7 separate regions of the Homo sapiens genome follow, and all the other regions are linked to region 1. Evidence: promoter capture Hi-C in 16 types of primary human blood cells and fetal thymus (Javierre and others, 2016). All regions are on one chromosome and are shown on one strand. Each heading gives the region's core, a stretch centred on a gene start or on the middle of the fragment in contact. The rest is flanking DNA. Distances are from core to core; before and after follow the strand shown. Region 1 holds the start of TESK2 (testis associated actin remodelling kinase 2). Region 2 overlaps RNF220 (ring finger protein 220). Region 3 holds the start of SNORD145 (small nucleolar RNA, C/D box 145). Region 4 overlaps ARMH1 (armadillo like helical domain containing 1). Region 5 overlaps ARMH1 (armadillo like helical domain containing 1). Region 6 holds the start of RNU5D-1 (RNA, U5D small nuclear 1). Region 7 holds the start of BEST4 (bestrophin 4).

What was found. Contacts are between HindIII fragments. The CHiCAGO score rates a contact against its expected background, and 5 or more counts as called.
Region 2: a fragment that was not itself captured here is called in contact with the fragment with the promoter of TESK2 in region 1 in 1 of 17 cell types (non-activated CD4 T cells); the score reaches 5.9 in non-activated CD4 T cells.
Region 3: a contact is called between a fragment that was not itself captured here and the fragment with the promoter of TESK2 in region 1, in 1 of 17 cell types (naive CD4 T cells). The highest score is 5.1, in naive CD4 T cells.
Region 4: a fragment that was not itself captured here is called in contact with the fragment with the promoter of TESK2 in region 1 in 1 of 17 cell types (total CD4 T cells); the score reaches 5.1 in total CD4 T cells.
Region 5: a fragment that was not itself captured here is called in contact with the fragment with the promoter of TESK2 in region 1 in 8 of 17 cell types (naive CD4 T cells, total CD8 T cells, total CD4 T cells and 5 more); the score reaches 15.0 in naive CD4 T cells.
Region 6: a fragment that was not itself captured here is called in contact with the fragment with the promoter of TESK2 in region 1 in 10 of 17 cell types (fetal thymus, erythroblasts, total B cells and 7 more); the score reaches 13.8 in fetal thymus.
Region 7: the fragment with the promoter of BEST4 here is called in contact with the fragment with the promoter of TESK2 in region 1 in 13 of 17 cell types (erythroblasts, naive CD4 T cells, megakaryocytes and 10 more); the score reaches 16.0 in erythroblasts.

Annotation. Positions count from the first base shown.
Region 1 is chr1:45,489,587-45,492,934 of GRCh38, reverse strand. It overlaps TESK2 (testis associated actin remodelling kinase 2), which reads left to right and starts at 1,772. Exons shown (of 11, transcript NM_007170.3): 1 at 1,772-2,083. RefSeq lists enhancers at 1,484-1,778, 2,065-2,114 and a silencer at 1,615-1,834. The HindIII fragment of the contact is 2,357 bases long and covers 1,140-3,348 here.
Region 2 is chr1:44,629,856-44,633,203 of GRCh38, reverse strand. It overlaps RNF220 (ring finger protein 220), which reads right to left. Exons shown (of 15, transcript NM_018150.4): 6 at 819-861. Among named protein-coding and RNA genes, the nearest start is that of SNORD145, 40 kb to the left of the region's middle. RefSeq lists enhancers at 1-438, 508-597, 1,208-1,297, 988-1,535, 1,628-1,727 and a silencer at 868-1,177. The HindIII fragment of the contact is 3,724 bases long and covers 1-3,348 here.
Region 3 is chr1:44,668,154-44,671,501 of GRCh38, reverse strand. All of the region lies in intron 1 of TMEM53 (transmembrane protein 53), which reads left to right. SNORD145 (small nucleolar RNA, C/D box 145) reads left to right here and starts at 446; the gene lies at 446-545. The HindIII fragment of the contact is 1,523 bases long and covers 985-2,507 here.
Region 4 is chr1:44,689,674-44,693,021 of GRCh38, reverse strand. It overlaps ARMH1 (armadillo like helical domain containing 1), which reads right to left. Exons shown (of 12, transcript NM_001145636.2): 2 at 3,119-3,346. The coding sequence starts at 3,324. All of the region lies in intron 4 of LOC105378690 (a long non-coding RNA gene), which reads left to right. Among named protein-coding and RNA genes, the nearest start is that of ARMH1, 17 kb to the right of the region's middle. The HindIII fragment of the contact is 905 bases long and covers 1,164-2,068 here.
Region 5 is chr1:44,709,996-44,713,343 of GRCh38, reverse strand. All of the region lies in intron 6 of ARMH1 (armadillo like helical domain containing 1), which reads right to left. The region is part of intron 2 of LOC105378690 (a long non-coding RNA gene); the gene reads left to right. Among named protein-coding and RNA genes, the nearest start is that of RNU5F-1, 10 kb to the left of the region's middle. RefSeq lists a silencer at 207-266. The HindIII fragment of the contact is 9,625 bases long and covers 1-3,348 here.
Region 6 is chr1:44,730,797-44,734,144 of GRCh38, reverse strand. It overlaps RNU5D-1 (RNA, U5D small nuclear 1), which reads left to right and starts at 2,975; the gene lies at 2,975-3,076. RefSeq lists a silencer at 574-868. The HindIII fragment of the contact is 2,150 bases long and covers 425-2,574 here.
Region 7 is chr1:44,786,349-44,789,696 of GRCh38, reverse strand. BEST4 (bestrophin 4) reads left to right here and starts at 1,527. Exons shown (of 9, transcript NM_153274.3): 1 at 1,527-2,143; 2 at 2,231-2,325; 3 at 3,001-3,234. The coding sequence starts at 1,992. RefSeq lists enhancers at 2,299-2,984, 2,986-3,075, 2,985-3,348 and a silencer at 3,196-3,325. The HindIII fragment of the contact is 5,761 bases long and covers 1-3,348 here.

The DNA of each region.
Region 1 (3,348 bases), core at 523-3,022:
TGGCTTTAGCCTCCCAAGTAGCTAGGACCACAGGTACATGCCACCATTTTGGGCTCATTTTTTTTTTTTTTTCTGTACAGACAGGGTCTCGCTATGTTGCCCAGGCTGGTCTCAAACTCCTGGCTTCAAGTGATCCACCTTGGCCTCCCAAAGTGCTGAGATTACAGAAGTGAATCACTGTGTCTGGCCATATTTTTTTTTTTTTTTTTTTTTTGAGACGGAGACTTGCTGTGTCGCCCAGGCTGGAGTGCAGTGGTGCGATCTTGGCTCACTGCAACTTCTGCTTCCCGGGCTCAAGCGATTCTCTTGCCTCAGCCTCCTGAGTAGCTGGGACTACAGGCACGCGCCAATACACCCAGCTAATTTTTCTATTTTTAGTAGAGACGAGGTTTCACCATGTTTGCCAGGATGGTCTCGATCTTCTGACTTCGTGATCCCCCTGCCTCGGCCTCCCAAAGTGGTGGGATTACAGGCGTGATCCACTGCTCCCGGCCCTGGCCATATTTCTTAAACTTTATGGCCACCAGGAATGCATACCACTTATACTCTTCCAGGAGGATGAAAGTCTTAAGATGTCTGAAAAGGGGTCTCTAACCCCTGGGAGTGCTAATACAGTAAGGCCCATACTGCTTGCTCTTGCCCTCCTCCTGTTCTAGTCTCTTCAGTCATGAGATTATGAGCTCCTGATGTCCAGGCACATGCAAAAAGTGAAGAAATATGTGCCTTGAACAGCTGGGCAGAATTCTTAGCTGGGAGCGGTGGCTCACGCCTGTAATCCCGGCACTTTCGTAGGCCAACGTGGGCCGATCACTTGAGTCCAGGAGTTACAGACCAGCCTGGGCAACATGGTAAACCCCGTCTCTACAAAATATACAAAAAATTAGTCAGGCATGCTGGCGTGTGCCTGTAGTCCCAGCTATCCGGGGAGGCTGAGTTGGGAGGATCATCTTAATCCAGGAGTTTGAGGCTGCAAGTGAGCCATGATCGCTCCATTGCACTCCATCATCCTGGGCGACAGAGTGAGACCCTTCTAAAAAAAAAACAACCAACAAAAACAACAAAAAATCCCAACTTATTCCCCACCAGCTTTCTTTCAAAATCTGTTTTCAAGCTAGCTGAAGTGTTACCTCCTCTAAGCTTTCACTTAACCGAATCTCATAGTCATGATTAATTGCTTCCCTAGCATTTTGTTTAGCTCTACTGATTGCTCTTACTATTTCAAGTCGGTATTATTGATATATTTTTTCCTCCTCACTATACTGAAATCCTGCAGGACGCAGCATTCTTACCGCTTTTCCTTACTCAGCTATACCTTGACCAACCCGAAAGCCGCGCCAGTCTAGTCCATTTTCTATTGGCTTTATCAATTACCAATCATTTCTGTGTTTAACATTTTTATTGGTCCATCTTGTGTTTACTGCCCCGCCCTCTAAGAGGCTCCTGGACTTGGGTTTCCCCCAGGTGTATTCCCTCCTCCTCGGTTCCGCCTTTCCCACACACTGCTTCTTCTGTTTTTACCTCGACTTCCTTCCTATTGGTTCCCTTCGTCCTCCGGAGTTGGCACCTACGGCTGTTGATTGGCTTTTCTGGACGCCCATTGTGCCCACCCTCATACCACGTGGCATTCCTAGCGCTAATTGGGCAATTCCACTACCTCGTTTATCAGGAGTTGACGGTTGACTGGCTACTCTGAGGGAGGGCTTGAGGGAGGGGCGTGGCCAGCCGAGACCCCGCCCCCAACCCCCCTGCTGGGCCGGGTAGGCGTTTCAGTCTTTCGCGGCCCGGGAGCTCAGCAGAGCTACCAGCTGCCCTGTTGGCTTCGCTGGTCGGATCGTCCTCCTGGCCCCGCCAAACAGGCGGGGGGAGCGGCCCCGACTGTGGGGCCATGGCAGTAGTCTCCTCGTTCGCCGCCGCCGCTAGCCTAGCTGAGTCGCCGGCTTCTGCGCTAGGGGCTCCCACCGCCTCCGCAGGCTAAGGAGCCGCTGCCACCAACGAGCTGTGAGGGTTACTATGCTCCCTCTTTGCCGCCGTCTCCTCCTCTTGCCCGCGCAGGCACCCCTCTGGCTGCTCAGTCCTGCCTCAGGTAACGTGAAAAGAGGACGGGGGTCACAAACCCGGGCATCCTGCCTGGCCCGCGCGCGCTGCCGCTCCACCTCCTCTGCCCCGGAGCAGAGGCGCCTGCGTCCCTCCGCACCCGACGGGACCCCTCGGCTTCCCAGAGGTCCCCCTCTCAGCGGCGGCGGACGCTCCCTTCCTGGCCGCTTTCCCCTTTCCTTCTCACTTCCCTCAGGCTCCCCGCCACGTCTGCTCCCCCTTAGAACCTGGGAACCCATTAGAAGTTACCTCGCTCGCATTAGGGATCTTTCGTTTTCTCGGAAAACTCTTGTTTCAGAGACTTCCAGCTCCCCACTGAGCGCCTCCCTGCTCGCATACCCGCTCCTGCCTCAGAGATCTGGGTTCCTTCACTTGACTTCCCTCCGATACACTCTTCCCTCGAAAACGTTCACCTCTACCCAGGAAAACAATTCCCTCCCCTCAGACCCTACTGCCTTCCCCCTCTTCTTTCCTCGCTTGTCATCGTCTCCCTTCCTTTCCCCTCTCTGCTTTTTACTCTTCGCTGTGAAGAGTGGACTAAGCCAGTGTTCAGATTTCGCTACAAGCGAAATCCAGGTTTGCGTAATTTAAAAGTCTTTAAATTGTATACCTCTGAGAAGAACTTGCTGAGGAATTTGGACTTCATGCTGCATGCATGGGGAGCCGTTGAAGGTTTTGTAAGCAGGAGCTTGGTATGATTGCATTATCTTTGGTGAAAATATAGAGGAAGGATTGAAAGTGAAGACCGTGGAGGCGGAAAGGCCAGGTAGGCAGAAAACGAGTGTGCTCATCCAGGCGGGAGGGAATGGCCCGAAATTCCAAGAGGTTTCAAAATAAAGTTGAGAAGAATAGTAGAAAGTTTCTGACTTGGCTGATGGTGTGAATCGGTAGTGTTAATTGAAATAGGGAACATAGTCTCTGGTTATACCACCCTCAACGCTCCTGATCTCATCTGAAATAGGGAGCATAAAAAAGCAATTTTGAGAGAAGGTAATAAATTTGGTTTTGAACAAGTTAAGTTTCAGGGTTTGTTTGTTAGTTTTTGTTTTTTTTGACGGAGTCTCATTCTGTCACCCAGGCTGGAGTGCAGTGGCACGATCTCAGCTCACTGCCACCTCCTCCTCCCAGGTACAAGCGATTCTCCTGCCTCAGACTACCGAGTAGCTGGGATTACAGGCATGCGCCACCACGTCCGGCTAATTTTTGTACTTTTAGTAGAGACGGGGTTTCCCCACGTTGGCCAGGCTGGTTTCG
Region 2 (3,348 bases), core at 337-2,836, 860 kb after region 1:
CCCATCATGAATTTCTCCCTTTTCCAGACTAGGGCTCAGCCTGGCAGCAGAAACCAAGTGATAAGAGCTGGGGATCTTGAACTCCATGGCCTCTCTCACTTACCAGCTGACCCAGAGACCCTAAACCCCTTACAGCCACCCCCCAGATACCACACCCCAGTAAGCACAAAAAGCTAGGATCATTCAATTGTATTCAGCAAACAGGAATGCTCCAGAGGTTTGAATCCAAAAGGGGGGCTGCTAGGTAGTGCATACACGGCCTGCTTTCAGAGAAGGCCTCTAAGAGCTGTCGAGCCCACGCTGATCACCTTTGTGAAATGTGGGCCGACTGATAACTCAAAGAGCCCTGGGATGAGTTAGTTCCTGTTGCCGTGGGAACTCCAGATCTCACTGTATTGTCAAGTCTCAGCAGAGGGGCTGTATTCACACTACTGGGCACTGATTAAAAACTGGAAGAAAAACATTCTCAGCGCCCTGCAGGTTTGTATAGTGAGGTCCCAGCAGTTTGCAAATTCAAAGCTGAGCTCCCGAGTAGAATTGTGTAGCTCGTTCCTCATTCTCCGGCACTTATTGCCCCCCCAGGGTTCTTCAGGGCCTTTAGAGAGGTTTGGGCAAGAGCTGGGCGCCATACCTCCATTAGACAGACGGGGAAACTGAGAGCGGCAGCTTTGGTTTGCACATACTCAGGCGCCGTGACTGCGAAGAAGCCAACGGGCCCCAGAGTCGAAGAGACCCAGGCAAGCCAGGAGCGGCAGGCAGTGAGGGAGGGAGGGAGGAGGCCGGGGGTGGGGCGGAGGGAGGGGCCGGGCAGGACTCACCATTCAGTCGGGTCTGCCGGTTGGCTCGTACTCGCAGAAAGGTCTGGGAGAAGATCGCGGGCAGATGCAAGAAAAGAAAAGAGAGCGTCAGGCGCGGCCTGCAGTCCTGGCCCCCGCCCCAGCACCGGACCCCCGACCAAAGCTGCTCCGCCCCAAACAGCCCGTAAACAAACCTACTTCCTCCCTCCCGCCGGCCCCTCTGCTCCTCCGGCCGCTCCGGGCTCTCGGCATAGCCGCCGGGCGCTGCTCTAACGGGACCCCGTGGCCGCTGCGCGGTGCCGCCCCAGCCCTGGCCTCCGGCGCTCTGGGCCCCACGGCCGCCCGGCCGGCGAGGGCGGCGATGCGGGCGGATTCCCCGTGGCTGCCCGGCGGCGGCGGCACTTCAGCTCCAAGCGGCGGCGGCGGCCATGTTGGCCCTAATCACGTGATCTGCCGCCGTCGCGCGCTGGGGGTGAAAGTTCACAATGCGGCGGGGGCGGCCGGACAGAGACCAGGAAGCTGCCGTTTGTACTCGGGTAGCAACCGGCAGAAGCCTCCCCGGGGTCCCTCCCACCGCCCGTGAAGCCTACCCACCCAATCTTTAGCGGCTGCGAAGTCCTTCCACCCCACTCCACGACCCCTCCCGCTGCGGGGCTCCTTCCGCCCCATCGCCCGGCCCCGGCTCCCGCCTCCTGTGCCTGCCTTTCTCGCGGCTGCCCTTAGGGCAGAGGCATCGCGTTGGGTGCTTTACAGGGGACAAGGCGTCCGAATTCCCTATCGCCTGTGGGCGATCCCCGCCCAACCCCTAGGCCATCCAGTTCTGTTATCAGAGGACTCCCAACATGTCAGCTGTCTGCTGCACGGCCCCTGGAGCTCCCATAGGCACTGCATACCCACACGGCCAACATGGCCAACATGGAACTCAGTATCCTCCAAACAGAGGCCTTCCTCTTGGGTTCCCTGTTCATAAGAGGAAGCCACTATCTACTCAGGTGTGCCCACAGAAGAAAGTTGAGAGTCGTCCTGGACCCCACTTTCTCCATCCCTCACACTCAATCCTTTTCTAGATCCTGAAAGTGTACATTGAAAGGTCGCTAATTTTCTCATCTCCACCTCTGTATCTCCTACTCATCCTTCCAGGTCTAACTGAAAAATAGCTTTGCCTTGTGTAAGAGTACATTCATCTCTGCGCCGTTATCATCGCTTGTGAAGTTTTTATCAGTGGACTGACCACTTCAGGGTTGGGGCCGTGTGTGAATTATTTGGGTGAACCCAGAGCCCAGCATGGCACTGGGCAAAGGCAAGTCAGCCCTGAGTTGTTCTTCCATGGTTGTACCTACCTTGGTTGTCGTTGTGCTCCAGTCATACATAATCTTACGAGCTCTCGAAATTTGCAGCTGTTCCCGTCTCATCTTTTGGTCTCTAGCTTCTCTCTCTGCAACCCATCCTCCACACTACACACAATGTGATCTTTCTATTGGACAAAATTAACCCTCTCCTTCTTTAAATCCTTCAGTGGTTCTCCATCAAGGCATATAGGCCTTCCCTGTCTGCCTTGCCAGACTCTTCTCTCACTCCTATTCTCTCCCTTTACATTCCTGACACTCAGCTTTGCAGAGCTAACTAGCTCTTTGAGCACTCCATGCTCTGCACTCCAGGCCAGAGAGCCTCCATGCCCTCCAGTATCCCTTGCTTGGTTAACTGTTGTTCATCCTTCAGGACTCTGGCAAGACTTAGTTTTGTCCCCCAAGCCTGGGTTTGATGCCTCCTCTGAGTTTTCAGTTCCACTGCTTCTCTTTGATCATGTATATTTTGATTGTTTGTTTACATATCTGTCCCTTGTACTTGGAAGGTCATCTCTAGCCATTTACCCAGCACAGCGTCTTGCATGAAGGAGACACCAGTGGGAACGGGAGAAAGACTTTATGAGATAAGCCCTGAGCCCAGTGATGGGTTGGGAAACAATCTCGGATTTAGGGCCAGACAGACTCAAGTTCAAGTCCTAATTCTGTTACTTACAATTTATGTGTTCTTAGAAGAGTCACCTCTTTCTAGGCCTGTTTCCTTGGTAATAGACTGGGCATGATGAATACAGTTGCTATGAGGTTTAAGTGAGGTAATGATAAAGAGGGTTAGTTAGTCAGCAGGGGCTAAGTAAATGAGAATTCAAACCAGAAACCAAGGCTCATGCCTTTAATCTTAGCACTTTGGAAAGCCAATGCAGGAGGATTGCTTGAGCCCAGGAGTTCAAGACCAGCCTGGGCAATATAGTGAGACCCTGTCTCTATGAAAAACAAAAACAAAACCCCAGAAACCAATACCCCCTGGTTTCAAGGCCTAGCTCAGTGACTTTAAAAATCCGACATAGCTGAACAACTACTACATGCCAGGCCTTGTGTAAAGAGCAAGGGATGGGATACCCAGCTAGTCTCTGGGTTGCTTTCCAGCTTCACCTACTAACTTTCCTTGCATTCTACTTTCTAACAAAAGCAAACTGCTAGCAGGTCCCCAGATACATCATTCTGTTACACCTCTATGTTCTCTACATAGT
Region 3 (3,348 bases), core at 497-2,996, 820 kb after region 1:
GTATGAGCCACTGCACCTGGCCTGAAATTACTTTTCCCCTGTATTTGAAAAATCGAAACCACAGAGCCCATCACTGCTGTGAGCTGACAGAGAAGCTGATGCTGGCACATTAGCTAGCTGGAAGGCAGCTGCAGATCTGGGGTCATTCAGAGCCCTGGGCCTTGTAGGTCAGGCTTGGCAGCCCAACATCCTTCTGCTGGGAATCCTACCAGCCAGTACCTATTGGCTGCCCACACCGATGGTCGTCTGCCCAGGCCTTTGCTAAAGCCGGTCGTTTGACCCAGAATCTGTCTTCCCTCCTCCCTCTCTTTTTCCCAGGCCAGTGATCCCCTCAGTCTCTCAATACCCTCTCTTACTTCATTTCATTTGGGAAGGGTCTCTCCTGGGGCTCCCATAAGCACTATATTTTCCTGTTGTCGTGTTTTTGATGGCTTCACTCACTGTCACCAGGGCCTGGGAGGGATGATGTACCAAGTGAGCTGAATGGAATCACTTGGCAGCACTGTAGGCCCAAGCCAGAGCTGCTCTGACATCCCAGGCCCAGGCCGTGCCACCCCTCCTCCCATCCAGAGAATGGTCAGCCAAGTCCCACCTAGATCCCCTCTGTGACTTGCTCATAGGCCAGCAACCTTCTTAAAGGCACCGTGTGGCTCTCATGTTCAGTAAACATAAAGAAAAATTCATTCATAGAATTAATGAGTCTGGGGCCTGGTCATGGGACAAACATTTTGCTCTTAAAGTAAACAGAAGGTCTTAAGGGGATCACAGAGAGGGGAAGTGAGGGGGTTTTTGCTCCCCAGGTTTTACCGCATGCCTTTTTTGCTCATCACTGGCTGAGGTCAAAGAAATATAGACATCATTTTAACCCTCAGGAAGTTGTCTCGGACACCCAGGAGACAGTGCTGAAGGGTCTGGACCACCATGGTGGGCCCTGTGGTGGGAGAGGCTTCCTAGAGTAGAGCAGCCCAAGCTGGACCTGAAGCTTCAGGAGGGCTGACAGACCCCCATGGTGAGCAGCAGAAAGTGTGGAAGTCAAGTCCATGGCCATACCACCTTGAACATGCAGATCTCAGAAGCTAAGCAGTGTCAGGCCTGCTTGGAACTTGGATGGGAGAAAGTGCAGAAGTAAATCCCTGAAGGGGGACAGTGAGTGGCTGGAGGGAACAGGGGCCTGGCAGGAGGCCGCGCTGTGCTTTTGTGGGTGGAGAATTAGATGAAAACCTGAAGATCTGTCATGATGGACAGACCTCAAAGACCCAGGTGAAGAGAGTCGTTTGGGATTTGATCCTTGTCTTGTCTACGAGGACCCCAAAGGTCTTTTTTTTTTTTTTTAATACAGAGGAGTTGTATTTATTTTTGGAATCATGATCTCTTTTCTTTCACCTCTAGATAAGAGCCCTTTCTGGCTGGGCGTGGTGGGTCACACCTGTAACCCCAGCACTTTGGGAGGCCGAGGTTGGCGGATCACCTGAGGTCAGGAGTTCGAGACTAGCCTGACCAATATGGAGAAACCCCATCTCTACTAAAAATACAAAATTAGCCGGGTGTGGTGGCGCATGCCTATAATCTCAGCTACTCAGGAGGCTGAGGCAGGAGAATCGCTTGAACCTGGGAGGCGGAGGTTGCAGTGAGCCGAGATTGTGCCATTGCACTCCAGCCTAGGTAACGAGAGCGAAACTCCGTCTCAAAAAAAAAAAAAAAAAATAGGATGCTTTCTAAGTGTCTGCTCTATGCCAGGTGCTGGTGCTGTACTAGACCCTGGATTTGAGATCCAGGCCTCTTTGCAGGCCTCCTTTTCTCTGAATGTCTGTGGTACTTAACACTGTTAACCATGTTCTATCCACATGCCAGGCCCACCAGGAGCTCCTTTCATTATTTTATTAATCCTCACAACCACCTTGTGAAGTAGGGAGAACCCTTAATCCTGTTTTACAGATGAAGAACAGATGCTCGTGGGGAGGTAAAGTGTCTTGCCCAAAGTAATTCCAGATTTCAGCTTAAGAGCCTTACTCCAGAGCTTGTGCATGCCGAGATTTCAGTTGCCATTAGGAGGGGCTGCCTGAATACGATGCCATTTCTAGGAAACAATTAGGGACATGCACAAAGAAAGGGGTGTCCATTAAAGTATTTTTATAACAGCAAAAAATTGGAAACAGCATCATATCCAATAATGGGAGATTTGGTCACCATAAATTATGAAACATTCTATAGCCTCTCTGAAGCCACTAAAAATAATGGTGTAGAAATATATAAACTGACAGGGAAAAATGTTCACAATATATTGCCAAACGGAAGAAAGCAGATTACAAACAATATGATTCCAATTTTATTAGATATTCATTTTCTACTTTTTCTACAGTGAGTATGCATTACTTGTGAAGTAATAATAATTTCAATTTATTGAACTCTTTCCTTCTGCCAGGCACCATGATAAGCCCTCTATAGCTATTATCATATTTAATTCTTTGTATCATTGTCCCCATTTCACAGATAAGGAAATTGAAGCTTAGAGAACTTGATTAAGGTCTGTGTCATAGTTATTAAGTGGCAGAGGCAGAGATTTGAACCGAGATATGATTTTGTACAGTATGTACTCTTAGATACTATGCTACTCTGCTCTGCTCTTCTTTTAAAAAGTAAATAAAAAATAAAGTAATTTGGCCGGGTACAGTGGCTCACGCCTGTAATCCCAACACTTTGGGAGGCCGAGGGGGGTGGATTGCTTGAGCCCAAGAATTTGAGACCAGCCTGGGCAACATGGCCAAACCCTACCTCTGCAAAATAATACAAAAATTAGCTGAGCATGGTGGTGCTTGCCTATAGTCCCAGCTACTTGGGAGGCTGAGGTAGGAGGATTACCTGAGCCCAAGAGTTCGAGGCTGCAGTGAGCCATGACTACACCACTGCCCTCCAGCCTGGGCAACACAGAAAGACCTTGTCTCAAAGAAGAAAAGAAAAATTTGATTTAAATATAGGAACTGTGAGACACTAGAAAGTTTTTCTGGGGAGTAGAGAAAATTAAGACTCTTTCAATTTTTTGCATGTTATTTTATTTTTATTTTTATTTTATTTTATTTTTAAGACAGAATATCGTTCTGTCGCCCAGGCTGGAGTGCAGTGGTGCGATCTCAGCTCTGGGTTCACGCCATTCTCTTGCCTCAGCCTCCGGAGTAGCTGGGACTATAGGCGCCCGCCACCACGCTCGGCTAATTTTTTGTATTTTTAGTAGAGACGGGGTTTCACCTGTTAGCCAGGATGGTCTTGACCTCCTGACCTCATGATCCGCCCACCTCGGCCTCCCAAAGTGCTGGGATTACAGGCGTGAGCCACCAAGTCTGGCCAATTTTT
Region 4 (3,348 bases), core at 367-2,866, 800 kb after region 1:
CCTGTAGTCCCAGCACTTTGGGAGGCTAAGGTGGGAAGATCGCATGAGGCCAGGAGTTTGAGACCAGCTTGGGCAACATAGCAAGACCCCGTGTCTAAAAAAATTTTAAAAACAGAAAAATTAGCTGAGTGTGGTGGTGCACGCCTATAGTCCTATCTGCTTGGGAGGCTGAGGTGAGAAGATCCTTTGAGTCTCCAGGAGTTTGGGGCTGCAGTGAGCTATGATTGTGCTGCTGTACTCCAGCCTGGGGAACAGAGGAAGACCCTGTCTCAAACAAACAAACAAACAAAAAAAGAACATTTGGGTAAACCTACAGATGTATTCCATGGTTATTCCCTTTGGCCTGTGTTACAGGCCTGAGTCTGAAAAATAATTTTATCAATAACTTAAATGTAAGAAAGAGAGCAGTGTTTACTTAAACCTTTAATTCTTCCCAGCTGCAGATGCTGGGTCATTCATTCCTCTACTCAGCAAACATGTGCCAGGCATTGTGCTACATGTTAGAAATATAAAGATAAGTAGAACAGATGCGATTCTTGCCCACTGGATCTAAAATCCAGTGGGGGGAAAGAGAGATATTAAGCAGGTAATAACAATAAAATGTTATGATTATTAAGGCAGAGGAAGTCTATGAATATATATAAGAAGGGAACCTAAGCTAGCCTGGGACTCAGAAATGGGCTTCCTGAGAAAGTGATGTTTAAATTGAGACCTGAATAATAGAGTAGGAGTTGGTCAAATAAGGAGGGGGTTTATTTATTTTTATAGAGATGAGGTCTTGCTCCATCGCCCAGGATAGAACACAGCGGTGTGATCATAGCTCACTGCAGCTTCAAACTCCAAGGCCTAAGTGATCCTCCCTCCTCAGCCTCCCAAGTAGCTGGGATTATAGGTGTAAGTCACTGTGCATGGGTCAAGGAAGGGGTTTAGAGAAGGCGAGAGGGTTCAGGCAAGGACAGAAATATACAATAAAAGGGTCTGAGATAAATCTGTAGAGTGCTATGGGCACACAGAGCAGGAATATCCTCAAATCCTCCTATAACTTGAACTATCACCTTGACGGTGACCAGATCTGTCTTTAGCCTTGACCTGCCTCCAGGGATCCTGAGCACAGACATCTCAAACTCAACATGTCCCAAAACAAGCTTATCTACCCTCAAGCTTACTCCTCTTCTTATGTTCTCTTCCACATAATGGCACCATATTCCCCTAGTTTACTAAGTCAGATATGTGACACTCATCTTGTGGCATATGAGTGAAGATGGATATATGGGTATGGAATAGTTGGATATATAGGTATGGAACTCAGATTCAAGAGAGAAATTTGGGCAGGGATACTTATTTGAAAGCCCTCATACAAGAGTGGTGTTGAATCTTGACAATGAACTAGTCCCTCAGGGAGAATCTGAGAGTGAGTAGAGAAGAGGGACGAGGATGGAATCCCAAGGAACAGCATTTAAGGGGTGGCTGAAGAAGAGCGGGAAATGCATAGACACCAAGATAATCGGTATCAGAGAAACCAGGAGTGTTTTGAGAAGTGGGAAAGGTTGATTGACAAATGCCACTGAGAGGTCACCTATAAGGACTGAGGATGCAGTCCCTGGGTTTTGCAACTGGAAAAACATGGGTAACCTTAGCAAGACCTGCATCAGTGGAGTGGGAGGCACCGAAGTCAGATGGCAGCAAGTGGAGAAAAGGGAGGAGAGGAAGTGGAGACAGGGAGACTCAACAACCTTTATTTTTATAATTTTTAAAAAATGTTTTGAGATGGAGTCTGTCTCTGTGGCCCAGGCTGGAGTACAATGGCGCGATCTTGGCTCACTGCAACCTCCGCCTCCCGGGTTCAAATGATTCTCCTGCCTCAGCCTCCCGGGTAGCTGGGATTACAGGCATGTGCCACCATGCCCAGCTAAGTTTTGTATTTGTAGTAGAGACGGGGTTTCCCTTGTTGGCCAGGCTGTCTCAAACTCCTGACCTCAGGTGATCCGCCCACCTCGGCCTCCCAAAGTGTTGGGATTACAGGCGTGAGTCACCGCGCCCCGCCCCTCAACAACCTTTTCAAGAAGCTTCACTGGGCGCGGTGTCTTATGCCTGTACTCCCAGCATTTTGAGGTCAGGAGTTTGAGACCAGCCTGGCCAACATGGTGAAACCCTGTCTCTACTAAAAATACAAAAATTAGCCAGGTGTGGTGGTACATGGCTGTAGTCTCAGCTACTCAGGAGGCTGAGGCAGGAGAATCACTTGAACTGGGGAGGCAGAGGTTGCGGTGAGCTGAGATTGTGCCATTGCACCCCAGCCTGGGCCACAGAGAGAGACTCTGTTTCAAATAAACAAACAAACAAAAGAAGCTTCACCATGAAGGGCAGAAATTGGGGTTGGGTGGAATATAGATTTGAAACAGGGATTCAATTTTATTTTTTAAAGTAGAAGAGATTTCAGCATATATAAATGCTGAAAAAACGCTGGTTATGAGGCAAAGGTGAAAGCTATAGGAGAGAAAGAATAAGGAGATAGGAAAGGGTTCAAGTGCAGTACAAATAGAGGATTAGCCCTAGACAGAAGGTATACCTACTTCAACTCTGATGGGAGCAAAAGAGGTTAGGGGTGAGAAAGAAATACAATTATAGGTTGGGAACACAGGAAGCTGAGAGAGTTCTTGACTCTAAGGATTTTTTTTTTATCACTTTTTTTTAAACACCAGATGTCTGTTCTAAAATATCAGAATCAAGAGAAAACCCCTTTGACAATCTCCTCTCCTTTTCATTTTTGAAGGCTGCCTAATTTTTGTTTGTTTGTTTGTTTTGAGACAGAGTCTCACTCTGTTGCCCAGGCTGGAGTGCAGTGGCATGATCTCGGCTCACTGCAACCTCTGCCTCCCGGGTTCAAGTGATTCTCCTGCCTCAGCCTCTTGAGTAGTTGGGGTTACAGGCACCTGCCACCACGCCTGGCTAATTTTTGTATTTTTAGTAGAGACAGGGTTTCACCATGTTGGTTAGGCTGGTCTCGAACTCCTGACCTTGTGATCTGCCCACCTTGGCCTCCCAAAGTGCTGGGATTACAGGCGTGAGCCACCGTGCCCGGTGCCTAATTTTTTTTTTTCTGTTCAGTAAAGGATACGTGATTCTAAGCGAGGTGGTCAAGCGTACCAGGAACAAACTGGCTCCCTGGGAAAACTCCTGCTCCAGTTCAGGGGCAGTCTTGCCTTGGTTGGTTTCAATGAACTTGTCGAGGATGTGACTCCTTGCGACTTTGCCAGCGTTGTCCCACTCCTGTAAAAAACTTAAGAGCCTGCTAATTGCTGCCTGCTCCTTTATAGAAGTCATGATCAATCAGTCCTGAAGTTGGCT
Region 5 (3,348 bases), core at 402-2,901, 780 kb after region 1:
GTGGATCGCTTGAGCCCAGGAGTTGGAGACCAGCCTGGCCAACATGGTGAAACCCCATCCCCGCTAAAAATATGAAAATTAGCCAGGCATGGTGCTGCATGCTTGTGGTCCCAGCTACTCGGGAGGCTGAGGCACGAAAATTGCTTGAATCCAGGAGGTGTAGGTTGCAGTGAGCCAAGATCATGCCACTGCACTTCAGCCTGGGTGACAAAGCAAGACTGTCTCAAAAAAAAAAAAAAAAAAAAAGGCCGGGCGCAGTAGCTCTTGCCATTGCACTCCAGCCTGGGTGACAGAGCGAGACTCCGTCTTAAAAAAAAAAAAAGTGCAAAGCAAAGGCATAACGTTCTGTAAGGCAAAAACACTAGTTTTTAAATGAGACCCAGGTGGTGCAGTGGCTCACGCCTGTAATCCTAGCACTTTAGGAGGCTGAGGCGGGTATATCACCTGAGGTTAGGAGTTTGAGACCAGTCTGACCAACACGGTGAAACCCTGTCTCTACTGAAGTTATAAAAATTAGCTGGGCGTGGTGGCACATGCCTGTAATCCCAGCTTCTTGGGAGGCTGAGGCAGGAGAATCGCTTGAACCTCGGAGGCAGAGGTTCCAGTGAGCCAAGATCGCACCACTGCACTCCAGCCTGGGCAACAGAGCAAGACTCCATCTCAAAAAAAAAAAAAGAAAAAAGAAGAAATCCTGATGTATTTGCTTAACCCTGTGAGGGGTATGAAGCTAAGAAAACATAATTTTAAAAATATGGTTTACTGTAATCTTAACAATGTTGTCTGTCCTTTTTTTTTTTTTTTTTTTTTTGCGGTTCCCTGTAGCTGGGACCACAGGTGTGAGCCACCATGCCCAGCTAATTTTTGTAGTTTTAGTAGAGACAGAGTTTCATGGAGTTTCACTCTTGTTGCCCACTCTGGAGTGCTGTGGCACGATCTCGGCTCACTGCAACCTCTGCCTCCCAGGTTCAAGTGATTCTCCTACCTCAACCTCCCAAGTAGCTGGGATTACAGGCTCCTGCCACATATCCAGATAATTTTTGTATTTTTAGTAGAGAGAGGATTTCACCTTGTTGCCCAGGCTGGTCTCGAACTCCTGGCCTCAGGTGATCCGCCCGCCTTGGATTCCCAAAGTTCTGGGATTACAGGTGAGAGCCCCTGCGCCCAGCCAGGTCTCAAACTCTTGGCCTCAAGTGATCTGCCCGCCTCGGGCTCCCAAAGTGCTGGGATTAAAAGGGTGTCCTTGGGTTTTTATCTACTTCTCAAAGCTGGTAAAAACAAGGCAAGTCTTGTTCTAATACTGAAGAAAGAATAGTGTGGTGGTGAGGGGATGGGCGCAGGAGGCAGACTGACTGGGTTTGATCTACAGCTTTCTCATTTATCATTTTGAGACTGTGGACAGGTTATTTAATTGCTTTGTGCCTCAGTTTCCTCATCTGTAAACTGGGGATGAAAATAGTACCTACTTCACAGAGTTGTTCTGAGGAATAGATGAGATGGTAAAAGAGCTTAGAACAATGCTGGGCACACAGTCATTGTTGGTCACTAGTAGTAGTTATGAGTTAACATTACCATTAGTATCACTGTTGTAACAAAGCTCTGTGAGAACAAGGACTTGTTTCATTTGTCACTATACTCTCAGTGCCCACCCCAGTGCCATTCTTTTTGAATAAGTAAATGAATAAATGAGAAACTTAAATCATTGAAAATGAAAACAACAAAGGACATTATCAAGAAGGTGAAAAGAACCTACAGAATGGGAGAAACCATATATTTGATGAGCACAGAAACTAGAATATATGAAAAACTCTTACAACCCAACAACCAATTTTAAAATGGAAAAAGGACCTGAATAGACATTTCTCCAAAGAAGAAATACAAATGGACAACAAGTCTATGAAACACGTCTATGTTCAACATCCTTATTCATTAGGAAAATGCACTTCGCATCCACTAAGATGGCTATAATTAAAGAATCCCCAGAATAACAAGTTTGGTGAGGAAGTGGAGAAATTGGAATCCTCATATATTGCTGCTACTGGGAATGTAAAATGGTACAACTACTGTGGAAAACAGTTTAGTGGGTTCCTCAACGAGTTAAACAGAATTACCATATGATCCAGCAATTCCACTCCTAGGTAATATACCCCAAAGAACTGAAAACAGGTACTCAATTACATGTATGTGGATGTTCATAGAAGCACTGGTTCACAAGAGCCAAAGGCTGGAAATAGCCCGAATGTCTAATAATGAATGAATGGATAAACAAATTGTGGTAGATACATACAACGGAATATTATTCATCCACAAAAAGGAATGAAGTACTGATGCATGTTACAATGTGGGTGAACCTTGAAAATATTATGCTAAGTGGAAGAAGCCAGACATAAAAGTCATGTATTGTATAATTCCATTTATGTGAAATATATGGAATAGGTAAATCCATAGAGACAGAATGAAGATTGGGGCTTCCCAGGGACTGGAGGGAGTGGAAGGGGAATAGCTGCTCGCTGAATTCAGGGTTTCCTTTTGGGGGGATGAAAATGTTTTGGAACTAGATAGAGATGGTGGTTGTACAACACTGTGAATGTATACTAAATGCCACTGAATTGTTCACTTTAAAATGGTTAATTTTATGTTATGTGAATGTCATCTCAGTTAAAAAATGTGCTTTTATGAAGAAAGAAGTAAACCAAATCTGTGATTAATTTCTTTTCTTTTTTTTTTTTTTTTTTTTTGAGACGGAGTCTTGCTCTGTTGCCTAGGCTGGAGTGCAGTGGCATGATCTCGGCTCACTGCAAGCTCCACCTCCTGGGTTCACGCCATTCTCCTGCCTCAGCCTCCCGAGTAGCTGAGACTACAGGCGCCCACCACCACGCCCGGCTAATTTTTTGTATTTTTAGTAGAGACGGGGTTTCACCGTGTTAGCCAGGATGGTCTCGATCTCCTGACCTCGTGATCCACCTGCCTTGGCCTCCCAAAGTGCTGGGATTACAGGTGTGAGCCACCATGCCCGGCCAATCTGTGATTAATTTCTAGATCAATCATACCTCTTAGAATTAGGAACCTAAGTAACTTTACACAGCCAAGAACCGAAGGAAACTAACAATGAGGTTCTTGCGACCACCAGTCTCTCCAGGTTTCAGGGGGCCAGGGGAGGAGGTGTCACGCATTCAAAGCCTTGTCCATGTCTGTTCGGTTTGGTCAGTTAGGGCCACTGTTTCCCTGCACTAGCATCTCTAGAGGATTCCACTGTGTTAGTGCGAGAGTTCGCTCAGCTACAAGCCCCACTGTTGTACTTTGGGGCTGATGAACCATACTTTCAACTTCGCTATTAATATATGAAATGAT
Region 6 (3,348 bases), core at 250-2,749, 760 kb after region 1:
TTGAACCCGGGAGGCAGAGATTGAAGTGAGCCAAGACTGCACCACTGCACTCCAGTCTGAGCAACAAGAGCCAAACCCCATCTCAAAAAAAGAAAAAAGAAATAAGCATAATGAACATCTTCAAAAGATAAGGAAGGATATTGTTAAGGCAGGAAGAAGCAACTGAAAATACCAGGCTTGAAAAATTTAATAGTTGAAATCCATACATGAATTGAATAGCAGAATGGTTACAGCCAAAATGAAATGAGGAGCAACAGGATCAAGGGTGAGGATTCACCCAAAAGACATCAGGAAGGGATAAAGAAAATAGGGTAGAAAACAAATGAACCAACTGTTTGTGACATACACTGTTGATGGTTAATTCAGCAGGTATTCTCAACCCCCTTCTTCCTAAATCATTTCCACATTAGAGACTGAAAAAGCTTTATAGTTACTATACTTCCTTTCCCAGACTCCCATGCAATTAGAGCTGGCCATGGGACACAGTTCTGGCCAATGAGATGTAAGCAGGAGAGTTCTGGGGGCTTGTGGGCAAGACTTGTTGTTTTTCTGTTAAAAGGGAATGACAGAAAATGCTTTCCTGGTGTCATCCCTTTTTTCTTGGCTTGGACATGGGATGTTCTTTCTGGAGTTGTGACAGCTGCCTTGTGGTCATGAGGCAGGAGACAGTAATTTGGTTAAAAGCCAACATGCTCAGGACAGCCAAGTACAGCAGGAAGAGCCTAAGAGGGTTCTTGATGGTTCAGTAGTTGAACCAATGCTAGCGACTACCTACTTCCATATATATACATTTTTAATTTCTATCTCCATATGTCATTTTTTTTTTTTTTTTTGAGACAGAGTCTCGCTCTGTCGCCCAGGCTGGAGTGCAGTGGTGAGACCTCAGCTCACTGCAACCTCTGCCTCCCGGGTTCAAGCAATTCTCCCAAGTAGCTGGGATTACAGGCGTGTGCCACCATGCCCAGGTAATTTTTTATATTTTTAGTAGAGATGGGGTTTCACCATGTTAGCCAGGATGGTCTTGATCTCCTGACCTCCTGATCCACCTGTCTCCATACTTCTTGTTGTGTGAATAAGTTTCTACATTTCTAGAAAAAAAAAGTCAAAAATGTCAAAACTGGCACAAGAAAATTTAGTACATTTTTAGTAAAATTTTTAGTAAATTTTAGAATATTTAGTAAATGTTTTATCATTCCATTTGCTTTAATAGCTAATAAAGGAATGATCAAAAATTTTCTGGCCAGGTGCAGTGGCTCATGCCTGTAACCCCAGCACTTTGGGAGGCCAAGGCAGGAGGATTGCTTGAGGTCAGAAGTTCAAGACCAGCCTGGGCAGCATAGCAAGATGTCATCTCTACAAAAAATTTAAAAATTAGCCAGCTGTGGTAGTATGCTTCTGTAGTCCTAGCTACTTGGGAGGCTGAGGCAGGAGGACTGCTTGATCCCAGGAGTTCAAGACTTCAGTGGCCCTCGATTGCACCACTGCACTCCAGCCTGGGACACAGAGCAAGACACTGTCTCAAAAAAAAAAAAAAAAAAAAATGCCAGGCGCAGTGGCTCACGCCTGTAATCCCAGCACTCTGAGAGGCCAAGGCGGGCAGATCACGAGGTCAGGAGATTGAGACCATCCTGGCTGACAGAGTGAAACTCCCATCTCTACTAAAAATACAAAAAATTAGCCAGGCGTGGTGGTAGGCGCCTGAGTCCCAGCTACTCAGGAGGCTGAGGCAGGAGAATGGCATGAACCCGGGAGGCGGAGCTTGCAGTGAGCAGAGATCGCGCCACTGGACTCCAGCCTGGGGGACAGAGCGAGACTCTTTAAAAAAAAAAAAAGTGTATGATCGAATGGTAATAAACTGGATGGGTGGGGGGGGTACTTGGCAAAGCCTGTTTGTTCAGATTATTCTTGGCCTCTGTGTGACATTCATTCCCTGTGGGCATAAGGCAGGACACTGGTCACACGAAGGTCTTCATGGGAGAAGAGAAGGAAAAGGTCAAAAATAACTTCCTGCTTATATAGTTTTCTCAGTTTCTTTGATGGCTTAAAATACTCAGTATGCCAAGGTGCCATATGTTGGGGTATCATGTTCTAAGCCCTGACACCTCTGTAACAACTCAGAATTTCTTCTCCGGGCTTCCTTCAGGTAAGGTGAAAATAAACTTCTTGCTTGTTCAAGCTACTCTTTTTGGAGTCTTTGTTACATACTGTGGAAGGCAGAGGGATGATACAAAATTCAGTATTTGCTATGATGTGGTTTTCTTTTCTTTTCTTTTGAGGTGGAGTCTCCTGTTGCCCAGGCTGGAGTGCAGTGGTGCAGTCTCGGCTCATTGCAGCCTCCGCCTCCTGGGTTCAAGCAATTCTCCTGTCTCAGCCTCCCAAGTAGCTGTGACTACATGCGAACGCCACAACGCCCAGCTAATTTTTGTATTTTTAGTAGAGACGGGGTTTCACCATGTTGGCCAGGATGGTCTCGATCTCCTGACCTCGTGATCCGCCCGCCTCGGCCTCCCAAAGTGCTGGGATTACAGGCGTGAGCCACCGCGCCAGGCCTATGAATACAATTATTTTAAAGCTTTTAATTTTTTTTTTTTTTACTTTAAGTGCCAATTATAAAATAAAGTCACTGTCTAGTTGGACCAGGCATCTACAGTTCTGTAAATCTGGCTTCCGCTCTGCCCCCTGGTGGTGGCCTAACGCCTAGAAAAAGTAACGAACTATTTAAGGTATTTCTGGAAACCGAGGGGGTGGTGACTCAGCGTCATTTACATACCCACAATGCACTGCACACAGACCACGTCCTACTTTAAAAGGAGATTCTCCCTTTTTTCCCCCTCTTTTCCTTTACCATAATAACGAAGCTCCTTTCACACAATCGTCTGAGACAAAAACAGAAGTCACTCTTTTGGGTTAATAGTAACCATTGCTAATCTAGTAGTGACCGTCCCCCGAGGACTGTGTGCAACCATTCCAACACATGCTCTGGTTTCTCTTCAAATCGTATAAATCTTTCGCCTTTTACTAAAGATTTCCGTGGAGAGAAACCGTTTTGAGTTTCAAGCAAATTTTTTGAAGCCCTATGTTGGTGGGGTTCATCAACGGTGTTTAAAAATCAGATAGAAAGTTGTGTGTTTGTTGCGAGGTGTGAGACAACATTTTGTTTGAACATTTATTTTGGGCTGTTGTAATGGTGTGAGTGTGCGTTTTTTATTTTTTTGGAAGTGGGGTTTTAGACTAGACTGTAGTGAGCAATCTTTGCCTGCCGGCTTCAAGGGATTTTCCTGCTTCAGTCTCTCAAGTAGCTGGGGCTACAGGTGGCAACACCATTCCCTGTTAGTTTTTGTATTTTAA
Region 7 (3,348 bases), core at 278-2,777, 700 kb after region 1:
GACAAAGTTTTGCTCTTGTTGTCCAGGCTGGAGTGCAATGGCATGATCTCGGCTCACCGCAATCTCCACCTCCCAGGTTCAAGCGATTCTTCTGTCTCAGCCTCCGGAGTAGCTGGGATTACAGGCATGTGCCACCATGCTCAGCTAATTTTGTATTTTTAGTAGAGATGGGGTTTCTCCATGTTGGTCAGGCTGATCTCGAACTCCCGACCTCAGGTGATCCGCCTGCCTCGGCCTCCCAAAGTGCTGGGATTACAGGCGTGAGTCACAGTGCCTGGCCTTTTTTTTTTTTTTTTTTTTTGAGACAGAGTCTCTGTCACCCAAGCTGAAGTGCAGTGGCACAATCTCAGCTCACTGCAACCTCTCCCTCCCGGGTTCAAGCGATTCTCCCATTGAGATTCTATTTCTTTTTCTTTTTCTTTTTCTTTCTTTCTTTTCTTTTTTTTTTTTTTTTGATTACCCAGGCTAGAGTGCAGTGGCACGATCTCAACTCGTTGCAACCTGCGCCTCCCCAGGTTCAAGCAATTCTCCTGCCTCAGCCTCCCATGTACCTGCTGGGATTACAAGTTCGTGCCACCACACCCGGCTAATTTTTGTATTTTTAGTAGAGACAGGGTTTCACCATGTTGGGCCAGGCTAGTCTCGAACTCCTGACCTCAAGTGATCCACCTGCGTTGAGGCTGCCCAAAGTGCTAGGATTACAGGTGTGAGCCACCTTGCCTGGCAGCGGAAGTTCTATTTCTATCAGCGCCTTAGGTATTACTTCCTCCAGAGGTGAAAGTGGCCACTCAAATCTTGGGCACCCCTAGGAGTCAGGATGTTGGACACAGGGCTTAACGGAGCCTGCACTCCTAGGCCTGAGCTTCCAGATCTGTGGCTGTCAGCCCCGTGGCATGGATGGAGAAGAGCCTGGCCAAGCCCCCAAGCCCCTGTACAAGAAGACTGGGAGTGTGGCCAGTGCACAGGATGGGTCCTGGAGCTCATGCCTTTGCTAGGCCACTTCCAGCCTTGGAAGTCCATCAGCCCTGGCTTTGAATCCTGCCTCCAACATGTTCTAGCTGTATGGCCGACGGCGGGCAAGTCATTTACCTCTTGGAGCCTCATCTGTGAAATGTGGATGATTGATTCCCTACCTCATGGTGCTGTGATGAGGATTTCTTGAGAGGATGACCTAGTAGTGCCCTTGGCATGGTTCCTGTCACTTAGTCAGTGCTCTGTGATCAGCAGCTGGTATTATTATAACAGTTTATCATGCATCTGTCTTCCCACCTGAAACGTGGGACAATAACCCCTGTCATACTGGCTTGAAGGACATGGTGTCGTCTGTGTGAGCTGTGGGGTCAGTATAGCTGGCATTTCTGCCACTCGAAGGCCAGCCCAACCCTACAGGGGTAAGGAGACACACCCAGTTCCCAGCACCAGGGGAAGCTGGATGACAGCTTCAATCCATCAATGATAGGCCTCAGTCCAGCCTAACTTTATGGACTGCAGAGGTACTTAAGTCTGTGGGGGTTGAAGTCTAGCCCAGTTCATCTTCCACACGGGCTGCTGCCCAGAGCAGGTAGGCAGGTATGGGATGGGGGTGAGAGTGCCCTGGGCCCTGGTAGTTCTAGTTAATCAGCTTCCAAAGCAAGGCCCCAAGGAATAGCAGTGGATTTGGGCTGGAGCTGCGTCTCTTGTCCGCAGCAGTTCAGGATCTGGTTATCCCTAGCCCTGCAGGCTGAAGAGGAGCTTGAGGAAACCTCATGCATGAAGGGACACAGATCTCAGTTCTACCTTGTCCAACTCTAGCCTGGCTTTGCCCATGTACTGCTCAGTTCTGCAGGGGGTGGGGTGTACTTTTCTGCTCTGCAGGCTCCTACCCCCTTGTCCACTGACGCAGGGTGAAGGCTGGGGTGTGTGAGACCAGAGTGGAAGGGAGGTTGTCTGGAGAACTAAACGACAGCCCTGGGGGCAACTCTTGTGACCTCCTGCCCCAGGCTCCCAGCACCATGACGGTTTCATACACTCTCAAAGTGGCGGAGGCCCGCTTCGGAGGTTTCTCTGGCCTGCTTCTCCGCTGGAGGGGAAGCATCTACAAGCTCCTCTACAAGGAATTCCTCCTCTTTGGGGCCTTGTACGCTGTGCTTAGCATCACCTACCGGTAAGGGCAGGGTCTTAGAGCTGGCGCAAGTGGGGAGACTGGGCCACCCACCTCCCTCTAACCCAAGCCTACACCTGCCTTCCCCAGGCTGCTGCTGACCCAGGAGCAGAGGTACGTGTATGCTCAGGTGGCCCGGTACTGCAACCGCTCAGCAGACCTCATTCCCTTGTCCTTTGTATTGGGTAAGGCTCCCTTCTAGTTTTCCCTGTGTCCCCCTTACTGTGTTCCCTGACCTCTGGGTTGGGTTGACAGCTCCGAGGGTCAGAATTACCCAACAGATGGTGTGGTGACACACCTGCAGTCTCAGCTACTCGAGAGGCTGAGGTGAGAGGATCGCTTGAGCCCAGGAGTTCCAGTCCAGCCTGGGCAATGTAGCGAGACTCTGCTAAAAAAAAAAAAAAAAAAAAAAAGAATTACTCAACACGGTGGCAGAGCCTTCCTGGTCAGCCAGAGCAGGCCCAGCAGGCACAGGAGCTGGGTGCTGGGTCCAGGACTTCCAGAGGGCAGGGCCCTATCACTTGCCGGACCCTCACTTCCAGCAAGGCACAAGACACCTGCTGGCCTCACAAGCCCACCCTGGGCACTGCAGGGGAGCTGGACAGAGGTGACAACCCCTTCCCCACCCTCCTGGGAAGCAGTCTCCTGGCTTTGAATCCCCACTTTCCCTCTGCTGAAGGAAGTTTGCCCTCCTCCCTCCTCCTGGCCTCGCACAGCAGGGCACTGGAGCTGAATGTTTCCTTCCCCCTGCCACGATTCAACTGGCCTGGACCAGGCCCTTTGCTGGGGGAGGTGAGGCGCTCCGACCCCCAGGCTCTCCACTCTCCCTTCCTACTCCCTCTATCACGGCGGCCAAGCAGGTTTCTATGTGACTCTCGTGGTGAACCGCTGGTGGTCCCAGTACACAAGCATCCCGCTGCCAGACCAGCTGATGTGCGTCATCTCGGCTAGCGTGCACGGCGTGGACCAGCGGGGCCGCCTGCTGCGCCGCACCCTCATCCGCTACGCGAACCTGGCGTCCGTGCTGGTGCTGCGCTCGGTCAGCACCCGCGTGCTTAAGCGCTTCCCCACCATGGAGCACGTGGTGGACGCAGGTGCGCCGCCCGCCGGGAGCCTCTGGGGGTCCGGCCCACAGCCGGATGCAGGTGGCGCCTGGGAGAGTCCTGGGAGCAGGGGCCTCCAGGGAAGGGTCTGGACTGCGACAGGAA